Regions from separate parts of the Homo sapiens genome. Here region 1 is linked to region 2. Evidence: promoter capture Hi-C in 16 types of primary human blood cells and fetal thymus (Javierre and others, 2016). All regions are on one chromosome and are shown on one strand. The core of a region is centred on a gene start or on the middle of the fragment in contact, and the rest is flanking DNA. Distances in the headings are between cores, read along the strand shown. Region 1 overlaps UMODL1 (uromodulin like 1). Region 2 holds the start of UBASH3A (ubiquitin associated and SH3 domain containing A).

Region 1 (5,044 bases), core at 2,355-4,854, 260 kb before region 2:
ATGGCTCATTCCTCTGTGTTGTGGAGCCTGTGTAGGCCCAACCCGTGTGTCCATGCAGGGAATCTGACTGGGCTCTCCCCCTCCCACCAGGAGGACCTGCTGGTCCCGCGCAGCCCCACCCTCAAGGCCCAGGCCTCCCCAGGCTGCGCTGTCCTTACTGCAATGCTGTCCTGGGCTTGGACACCTTCCTCAGCTTTGGTAACCCACAGGCACACGGGTGCACACGTGGGCCTTGCATTCCCCGTGCTTCAGATCCATCAGCCCCGGATCCGGGTGGAGGGCTTGCTCTATCGCATTCCTCCCGTTTGTGCAGATCTCTCACCTGTGCCTGTCTCCTCCCCGAGGTGAGCCTCCTCATGCAGAAGCAGGCCTGGGTGCCGGTTATGTGGTCCTTATTGTGGTGGCCATCTTCGTGCTGGTGGCGGGAACAGCCACCCTTCTGATCGTGCGCTACCAGAGAATGAATGGGAGATACAACTTTAAAATCCAGTCCAACAACTTCAGCTACCAGGTGTTCTACGAATAGGAGGCGCAGGCTGACAGGAAGGTGGGTGCGGAGTGGGGTGGGAGGTGCAGGCTGACAGGAAGGTGGGTGTGGAGTGGGGTGGGAGGTGCAGGCTGACAGGAGGGTGGGTGCGGAGTGGGGTGGGAGGTGTAGGCTGACAGGAAGGTGGGTGTGGAGTGGGGTAGGAGGTGCAGGCTGATAAGAAGGTGGGTGCGGAGTGGGGGCATCTGATGTGCATGTCCTGCCTTGCCATCCATGGTGATGGGGACGGCCAGCAGGATTCAGCCAAGGGTAGATATGTGTGTGTCTGTGTTTTGTGGCCCTTTACGGAGCGTGCAGCCTCCCTTCTGAAAAAGCAACCAGGAGCAGGCAGAGAGGGGAAACTACAGGTAGGTTGGTGAAGGTTCGATCGCTTCACACACCCACTGGACTGGCTCCACGATACCAGCGGCAGTGCTATATGGGTGACCACAGGACCCAGGGGCCCACCACAAATCCCATCTCTGCCACCCACTCTCTTGACCACCCGGGCAAGGTCCTGAGCCTCTTGGTGCCTCGGTTTCATCATTTGTAAAAGAAACCATGGTAACATTTCCGGCCACGTGGAGGGTGTGAGATTTAAATGGGAAGATGCCCAAGAGGCCCCGCTATGGGGTCTGACGCCCTCAATTGCTGGTGGATCCTAACGATGGTCCTCGGCCGAGTGTCCCTGAAACCTGGTGCTCGTAGGGATTGTCACGTGTGGTGTGGATGCCACAGTGGACCCCCCACACCTTGCTGCTCATGCCCGCAGCCCCGACTTATGTATGACCTTTTGAGGCTGAAGATGCTTCTCTGATCTGCCCTGTGGACTTTTGTTTTTCCTGGGCCTGCACATAGTTCACCACAAATGAATGACAAGCATTATGGAGGGCAGTATGGTTAGTATAAACCTTCAGTGGGAAACACCAAGACTGGGACTTTTGTAAAGATTTTCAGATTTTTTTTTTTTTTGAGATGGAGTTTTGCTCTTGTTGCCCAGGTTGGAGTGCAGTGGTGCGATCTTGGCTCACCACAACCTCCACCTCCCAGGTTAAAGCGATTCTCCTGTCTCAGCCTCCTGAGTAGCTGGGATTACAGGCATGCGCCACCACACCCAGCTAGTTTTGTATTTTTAGTAGATACAGGGTTTCTCCATGTTGGTCAGGCTGGTCTCCAACTCCTGACCTCAGGTGATCCACCCGTCTCGGCCTCTCAAAGTGCTGGGATTACAGGCGTGAGCCACCGTGCCCGGCCAAATTTTGAGATTTTTCTAAAAAAAGAACATGCCTGTAATCCTAGCACTTTTGGAGGCCAAGGCAGGAGGATCGCTTAAGCTTAGGAGTTCCAGACCAGCCTGGGCAAGATAGAAAGACTCCATCTCTACAAAAAATACAAAAATAAGCCGGGTGTGGTGGCACACACCTGTGGTCCCAGCTACTTGGGAGGCTGAGGTGGAAGGATCCCTTGAGCTCGAGAGGTGGAGGTTGCAGTGAGCCGAGACTGCCCCACTACACTCCAGAGGGGAACCCTGCCTCAAAAATAAATAAATACTAATAAAAGAAGAAGAGAAGCAATCATGAGGCTTATCTGGCAGCGTGTGAGACTGCTGACTCCAAATGCTGTAAGGGAAGCATGCGGCTTCGGCTTCTGGGGAGGCCTCAGGAAACTTACAATCATGGCAGAAGACCAAGGGGAAGCAGGCACGTCTTCCATGGCTGGAGCAGGAGGAAGGGGTTGGGGCAGGTGCTACAGATGTTTAATCAACCAGATCTTATGAGAGCTCTATCGTGAGACAGCACCAAGAGGATGGTGCTAAATCATTTATGAAGGATCCGCCCCATGATCCAACCACCTCCCACCAGGCCCCACCTTTAATATGGGGATCACATTGAACATGAAATTTGGGTGGGGACACAGACCCACACCATATCAACTGCCCACCCTCTCAGCCAACAGGAGAACAAGGAAAGACGAGAGGCCAATTTTCCCTCGATGTTTTAATTTCAAGGAGGGGGACATCCAGCATGACCCAGCACCGACCCACCAGATGTCCTTAGAAAGCTAGTGGGATAGTGTTGGCCTCATCGCTGGGATTCGCATCTTAAATATTAAGTAAAAGGCACTGACATTTCCTCGTAACTCTATCTAGGGAGGTGACTGGTCTCTAGCACTGGTCCCGTCTATGCTGTAAGGGTCCTGAGACCCCAGAATACTGCGCATGTTAGTTACCAGGAGTCCTGGCAGGAGAGACGGGAAAGACAAAGCTAACACAAGCGTCCCCCTCACATGGGCAGAATCACTTCCACAAGCGGGTGGCGTTTTCTTTGAAGTTGCCCAGCAAGGGCAGCATGGAGGTTGCCTTTTGGAAACGTGTGCTGTAGTCTGGGCTTTGCTGGTGACCTGGGAGGATTGGCTTGAGTTCTCTGGGCCCCATTTCCTCATTTTAAGATTGGAGCCAGTGTCTACTACACTTTGCTGAGTTGTTTCAAAAATCTGTTATCTCAAGAAAATAAGGACCTGAGCACAGGAAAGATGGGCTGGGCTGGAGAAGCTGCCTGCCCGACGAAGAGGGGGTGGGCTGATGTTGACAATGTCTGTTGTTTCCCAACATCCCCGTGAGGTTGTGCTGTTATTAGCATCCTGTGTTATAGATGGGAATCCAGGGCAGAAAGGGATAGACGTCCCAGGTCACGTGGCTAGGAGGTCCAGGGCAAGAAGGGATAGGTGTCCCAGGTCACGTGGCTAGGAGGTCCAGGGCAGGAAGGGATGTGTCCCAGGTCACGTGGTTGGGAGGTCCAGGGCAGGAAGGGATAGGCCTCCCAGGTCACATGGCTGGGAGGTGGCCGAGCTGGGGCTGCATGGGATTTCCGTTTGGCTCTGGGGTCAGCTCTCTTAGCTACCAAGCTTAGAGCCTTTCTTACACTAGTGTTCACATGACTGATGGACCCTTAGAACAATGCCCCTTGCCTTTCCCCTTCATCAGAGACCCGGAGAATTTGTATTTTAGCAGCTGTGCAAGGGGATCCACAATTCTTAATTCTTGCAGTGGGGACACCAGGTGTCCCAGTTGAGAGGCAGCAACTGTTGTGGTTACAGGGAAGGAGCCTTCCCAGGACCCCTGAGCCTCCCCGGGAGGCAGGTGCTGCTGCTCAATTGTGGTCTGGGTCCTCAGCCACCTCCGGGGATCCCAAAGGGGCAGGGAACAACAGCGAAGTTTCAGTTCAACTTTACACTCTAATAGTGAAAAATAAGGAAGCTTCCTCAGTTTGGTAGCTTTTGGCCTCTGGTTTGGGGCCCATGGGGTTTGGGCCATGAAGACCCCCTCCTCACCAACCCCATTGCCTCCCATCCTGGGCAGGAGACATTGTCAATACCAGCCCGCCCCCTCTTCGTCAGGCAGGCAGCTTCCCCAGCCAAGCCCGTCTTCCCTGTGCTCAGGTCCTTATTTTCTTGAGATAACAGATTTTTGAAACAACTCAGCAAAGTATAGTAGACACTGGCTCCAATCTTAAAATGAGGAAATGGGGCCCAGAGAACTCAAGCCAATCCTCCCAGGTCACCAGCAAAGCCCAGACTACAGCACACGTTTCCAAAAGGCAACCTCCATGCTGCCCTTGCTGGGCAACTTCAGAGAAAACACCACCCGCCTGTGGATGTGATTCTGCCCATGTGAGGGGGATGCTTGTGTTAGCTTTGTCTTTCCCGTCTCTCCTGCCAGGACTCCTGGTAACTAACATACGCAGTATTCTGGGGTCTCAGGACCCTTACAGCATAGACAGGGCCAGTGCTAGAGGCCAGTCACCTCCCTAGATAGAGTTACGAGGAAATGTCAGTGCCTTTTACTTAATATTTAAGATGCGAATCCCAGCGATGAGGCCAACACTATCCCGCTAGCTTTCTAAGGAAATCTGGTGTATTGGTGCTGGGTCATGCTGGATGTCCCCTTCCTCGAAATTAAAACATCCGAGGGAAAACTGGCCTCTTGTCTTTCTTTGTTCTCCCGGGGCTCCTGTCTTTCGAAGTGAGAACTGTCTCACCAGTTCTAAAGTTCCTGCAGACATCTGCTCTTTGAAAACCATCAGCCAACCCACCCACCCCCACCAGGTCGACCCTTGGGCAGCCCCACTCAGAGATGTTCCCAGAGTCCTGGTGGGTTCTCCACGGATGGTGCAAAGGTGCAGGGGCCCCAGCTGTGCTCGTCTGGCTCAGGTATCTTCACCAGCCACCCCCACCAGTTGGCGTGTCAGGAGCATCGCTCACCTGAGGGCAGGCACAGCCCCATGGTCCCCGTTCCACTGGGCACTCTGGGAGTGGCTGCCTTTTCATTAGGGGCTTGATCTGTCCCTCTCCAGTAAACATAGACGCCATGTCCTCGGGTTGGTGTTTCCTCCACTACCCCTCCTCCTGGGGTTTTCTGTATTAACTTTACCTTTCCTGCGTGCAAGCTGACCCAGGTGACCTCTTCCTCCACACAGGTCGCCGTGAGTCAAGCTGCCTCCAGAACCTCAGAGCTTCCCT
Region 2 (5,346 bases), core at 29-2,528:
AATGATTCTCCTGCTTCACCCTCCTGAGTAGCTGGGATTACAGGCATGCACCACCATGCCCAACTAATTTTTGTATTTTTTAGTAGAGACAGGGTTTCAACATGTTGGCCAGGCTGGTCTCGAACTCCTGACCTCAGGTGATCCACCCCCCCCTTGGCCTCCCAAAGTCCCAAAGTGCTGGGATTACAGGCGTGAGCCACCACGCCTGGCTGGTATATTTATTAATCAAATACTACACAGCAATAACAGTGAACTAACTGTGGCTACAAGCAATAATGTGGATAAATTTTACAGGCATAATTTGAGGAAAAAGAAATGAGATATGATAGAGAATATGCTATATGGTTCTATTTACATAAGGCTCAACCACAGGCACAATTCATATACAAGTGATACAGCAGTTTACTTTCTGGGGGAGGGAGGAGATAACTGGAGGAGGCTGAGCTGGGGGCAGAGGTGCATCTGAGGTTCTGAGAATGTTCCAGAGCAGGCTATCTCCACCTTGGCACTAGTGAAATTTTGTTGGGGAGACTGTCCTGGGCACTGTGACATTCCCGGCCTCTACCCACTAGTGCCGGTACCACGATGTCCACCCCACCCACCACCACCCCCGCCTCATTTTGGAAACAAAAATGTCTCCAGACATTTCCAAATGTCCCCTTGGGTGGAGGAGGTACAAAATTCCCCTGGTTGCCCTGTTTGATTTTGGGTCGTGGGGGAATTAGGGGTGTGGGCTCATTTATGGAAATTCCTTGAGCTATACACATATGATTCATCAACTTTTCTGTACACATATAAAGCTTTTAAAGTTTTTAAAATAAAAAAACAAGTCAATGAATGACTGAAAGAACCAGTAAGTTTTCCAGCAATCCGAGACAATAGATAGAGTGGGGTTTAATGTCTTGTTCACAGACAAGGAGACTGGGATCCAGGGTGGGTCAGGGCAGGGGGCCAGCAGGATCCAGGAGGGAACTCATTCCCTGACTTCTCCTCCGCTTCCTTCCCCCATGCTCTCACGCATTCTTGCTCCCGAATACTAGCCAAGTCCCTACAGAGGCTGATCCCGTGCAGGGGCTCGGTTGGACCTTTAGCCTCAAACTCCCGTGGTGGAAACAGTTAGGATTGGTGGACGCTGCACCCAGCATCCTGCAAACAGAATTCTGAAAACTGATATCTCATGCAAACAGGATATCAACTTTTGTCAGAAAGATCAAAAAGAGCTTGAGGTTTTTCTTCACAGCCTCAGCCTTGCCTCTCCCCCTCTTGCTTTATCTCCTCATTTCTGTGTGCAGGCGAGCTTCTTGGCCTAAGGGCAGGAAGAGATGGCAGCGGGGGAGACGCAGCTCTACGCCAAGGTCTCCAACAAGCTCAAGAGCCGCAGCAGCCCCTCGCTCCTGGAGCCCCTCCTGGCCATGGGCTTCCCGGTGCACACCGCGTGAGTACTGCCCAGAGACCCCGGGGCCCAGCCAGTAAGGCTGGTGCCAGACCCTGCTGCGGCCCCCGGCATGGAGCTGCAGGGGTGTAGGGTACGGCTTCCTGCCAAAGCAGTGCACCTTGCAGGGTAAGACACTGCCTCTTCACAGGGCCCTCTTCTGCTTCTCGTAAATGAGGTGATCTTGACCAAGCTTGTCCAACCCACATGAGGCCCAGGACAGCTTTGGGCTTAAGCCATCATCCCACCTCAGCCTCCTAAGGCTGCCCTGTTCAATTTGTGTTGGCTGCCCAACACAAATTGGTAAACTTTCTTAAAATATTATGAGATTTTTTTTTTAGCTCATTAGCTATTATTAGTGTTAGCGTATTTTATGTGTGGCCCAGGGAGGCACAAGAATACCCCTGATATTCTTGACCTTTTAAAGACCAGCTCGGCTGGCTGACTGGGGGACCCTGAAATTTGTGAAAATCAGAAGCCATGTATTACTCTGGGTGCCCCATTTTGGGGGTTTGGAGGAGATTGGGGCCTGGTTGTAATCTCTTTGTGTGCAGCTCAGTGACTCTGAAAGTGGCGTTTCAAGATATTCAAACTCTAACGTGAAAGGCCCCAAAGCCCGCTGAGTCTCTAACACTGGGACCAACTGTCAGCAGGGCTGTGCTTCCACGCTGCCCGGGGAAAGTCACTTGTCCTCAGAGACAATCCCTTGAGTGTCTGATAACGAAACAAATGGGTAGGAAACTTCAGACACAGTGTGAGCGCGACCCTGCTTACCCAAGGGAAAGGCCTGCATGTGGAAGAGCTTAGCCTTCAGAGTTACCACTCTCGGAGAGGGAGGCCACGACACCAACATTGGGTTACAGCTTTCATGGCAAACCAGTGCCTTAAATCTGACCCATTCATTTTTTCACATGGAAAAATGTATCAGAAACACACTTTAAATCTGACCCATTCATTTTTTCACATGGAAAAATGTATCAGAAACACACTTTAGGTAACTTTGGGTTGGGGAAGGAGCTAAACTTTCCTTCCACACTATAACAAAAGCTTGGCCAAATTGGGTGAAGTAACTCTGAAGCTAGACAAACCCATTTCTTCTCCCCAAATCAGGGCTTTGTCGTCACTGTTATGTTCAAGCTAAGCCAGGGGCCTTTGAATGGGGAGTGGGGTCAGGCATGTGCAGGGCGGCCACCGGGCACCGTCCAGGCATTACAGACAAGGCAGCTTTTGTCCACTGCTCACCACCCAGTGCAGGCAGGACACTGGGCCCAGAGAGTGCATTAGTGGCGGAGGTGGAACCCGAACCAGCTTTCCATGCCTTTGAAGGAGTCCACGCTGGATTTTACTACTAAACGTATAGCATGGACTTCTACTCAAAATTCCTTCCAGTTTAAACATTAAGCACATGTTGGAGGAAGAGAAATGTGTGTTAATTTCCCCACACCAGAGCACCTCATAGTAAGTGCCCTGCACCAAGGCTGCCTTGTTCAAACCTCTCCAGGTGGCCACAGCCCCATCGGTGCCCACCCAAATAGCAGCATTCGGCATCATGTGGTGGGTTCCTCATGGACGCCCGCTGTTTCCAGTCTGCATTCCTGATAAATTACCTTTGCTATATTCCATTCTGTTTCATTTGGTCCAGTTCTGCCCAATTCAATGCAATGTACTTACGTCCCGGGTTACCGTGATGAATAAGACTCAGTCCTGTGTTCAGGGAGTTCTTGGTCTAGCAGGGGAGAGCCGTGGGTGCAAGGGGACTGTGTAAGCCGTAACAAGTGCCTGCCTGGGTGCTTTGGAAAGGGCTGTTTCCCAGCAGAGAGGTGTGGGAGGCGAGCCTGGGGATCAGGGTCGCTGATGCTGGGGTGAGGAAAGCGTGTGTCCGAGCCAGGGGCACGTTCCGCAGGGTGGGTCCATTTGATCTAGGCAGTGGGGGGGGGGGGGGCAGGCCAGGGAGAGGGATTGCAGGAGCGGGCGGAGGTCAGGTCCTCAGCCCTGAGACCCCGTGCCAAGGGCTGAAGCGGGTAGCCAGGGAAGGACAGTGAGGGGGAGGTGTGAGCTGGTCAGCATTGTCCAAAACCACGATGGCAGCACTCAGGGGACAGGCGCTAGAACTTCCAGCTGGAAGTTCAGCATCAGGCCCTCTTCAGAGCACCCCCCAAAGATCCTGGGTGTGCAAGGCCACACCCTGCCTCTCTGACCCTTTTCCCAAGAATGGGCGACGTGACTTTGTGTCTGTGTCTGCTCTTCTGCAGGCTGAAAGCGTTGGCAGCCACGGGGAGGAAGACGGCGGAGGAGGCCTTGGCCTGGTGAGTGCAGCTGCTTCTGTAGACCCAGGGGCGTTTGGGCTGAATTCCCTGTGCCTAAGGACTCCCTCCCACCAGGGCTGATACCAGGAAGAGCCGGGCGCCTCTGGGTGGGATGGGGCCACTGCGGAAGTGAAACAAAATAACCTCCCTGCCTACCCATAGTGCACTGAGGGAGGGGCACAGGGCTTTGGTTAACCATGGAAAGAGAAAGAGAGAACTCTGAACAAGGCTTTCTTCACTTACAAACCTGATTCAATCCAATTTGACTGCCAAGAAGAACAGGTTCATGTGCTTTGTTGAGTAAATGGGGAAGACATGATTGTTGTGTTGTGATAAGCACGTAAATGAGGGTAATTGTTAGAATAAAGTAATTAGGTTAAAAATGGTAACATTTGGGTTTATATTAGTACTGCTAATATTCAGCCTATTTCAGTAATTGAAGAGCAGGCTGGGATTTTGCATACTTGTGTTTGATTATGTCCTCCTCAACTGCCTACTACGATGGATAAGATTGAGATAGATAGGAGGATGTTTGTGTTTATTGATGGAAAGATTTGAGACATAATTGACATCTTTGCTGATAGAGACTAGCGGCCACCATGCTCTCGGGCTGCCTCTGAGGGGAAGGGAGTTTACTGGTGGTCATGAAGCCAGGTGTGTGGGTCTAAGGGTGCCAGGTGTGTGGGTCGGGTGAGGGCTCTGATTTGAGGTGACCTCACCAGGTACCAGCTGCGTGAGTGATTCTTCAAGCCACCCACTGCCATGGGCCTGTTCTCTGCTCTGGGGATGGAGAGGAGGGCCACCGTTTCTCTAAAACCCTCTCCTACCCGGATGTGCTGTGGGGAGTCCTTCATCCTCTGCCCTGAGATAGCCACGGGGAAAATCAAACAATAAAAACCAGGTCCTGGGAGGCTGGAGTGTCCTCTCCAAAGCAGGAGGGCAGATACTGATCCTGGGTCTCTGAACGTGCAGTGTTCCCAATGGGATGCCCCCTCCTCCTCCAGAAAGTGTAGGCCACGGGCAAAATGGGCAACCCCTTCACAGAGTCCACTAAAGCCAGTTGCCAATTTTGGATCAGAAACAAGCCCACTGCTGTGAAGGGCATGGCCAGCACCTGCCCACTGCAACCCAGTCAATAAGACTAGGAACCCCACCAAAAAATAGGGAGGCAATGGGGTCCCCTAGACTGTCAAGAGCACCCCAACCTCTCACTAGTAACCAGGGAGGTGGTGCAAATTAAGATATCATTAGAGCAAACAAGGTAACTCCAAGTGTTGATGAGGGTGAGGGAAGCAGGGCCTCACACGTCACTGGTGTCACTGAGGAAGGCAGTGCTGGGTATCTGCCAACCTTGGCAATATGCACAGCCCACCAGCCTCCGTCGTGCGTCTAAGCAGATTCCCTGGAGAAATGCAAGGAGCCTAAAGAGACATGTACAAAGATCTTGATTGCAGGGTTATGAAATGGTTTTAAAATAAAATAATTTAGATGTTCATCAATGCGGGAATGAACAAGTGCAACATTGTATATGTATACATGAACTATTACACAGCCTTTAACAAATTCGCGCTGACAAACTTCACTAGACACGTGTGTATCAACAGGGAT

What was found. Contacts are between HindIII fragments. The CHiCAGO score rates a contact against its expected background, and 5 or more counts as called.
Region 1: a contact is called between a fragment that was not itself captured here and the fragment with the promoter of UBASH3A in region 2, in 2 of 17 cell types (M0 macrophages and M1 macrophages). The highest score is 7.0, in M0 macrophages.

What each region holds. Positions count from the first base shown.
Region 1 is chr21:42,137,095-42,142,138 of GRCh38, forward strand. It overlaps UMODL1 (uromodulin like 1), which reads left to right. Exons shown (of 23, transcript NM_001004416.3): 22 at 345-547; 23 at 5,002-5,044. The coding sequence ends at 526. Among named protein-coding and RNA genes, the nearest start is that of UMODL1-AS1, 31 kb to the left of the region's middle. The HindIII fragment of the contact is 352 bases long and covers 3,429-3,780 here.
Region 2 is chr21:42,402,624-42,407,969 of GRCh38, forward strand. UBASH3A (ubiquitin associated and SH3 domain containing A) reads left to right here and starts at 1,279. Exons shown (of 15, transcript NM_018961.4): 1 at 1,279-1,435; 2 at 3,685-3,738. The coding sequence starts at 1,323. The HindIII fragment of the contact is 825 bases long and covers 799-1,623 here.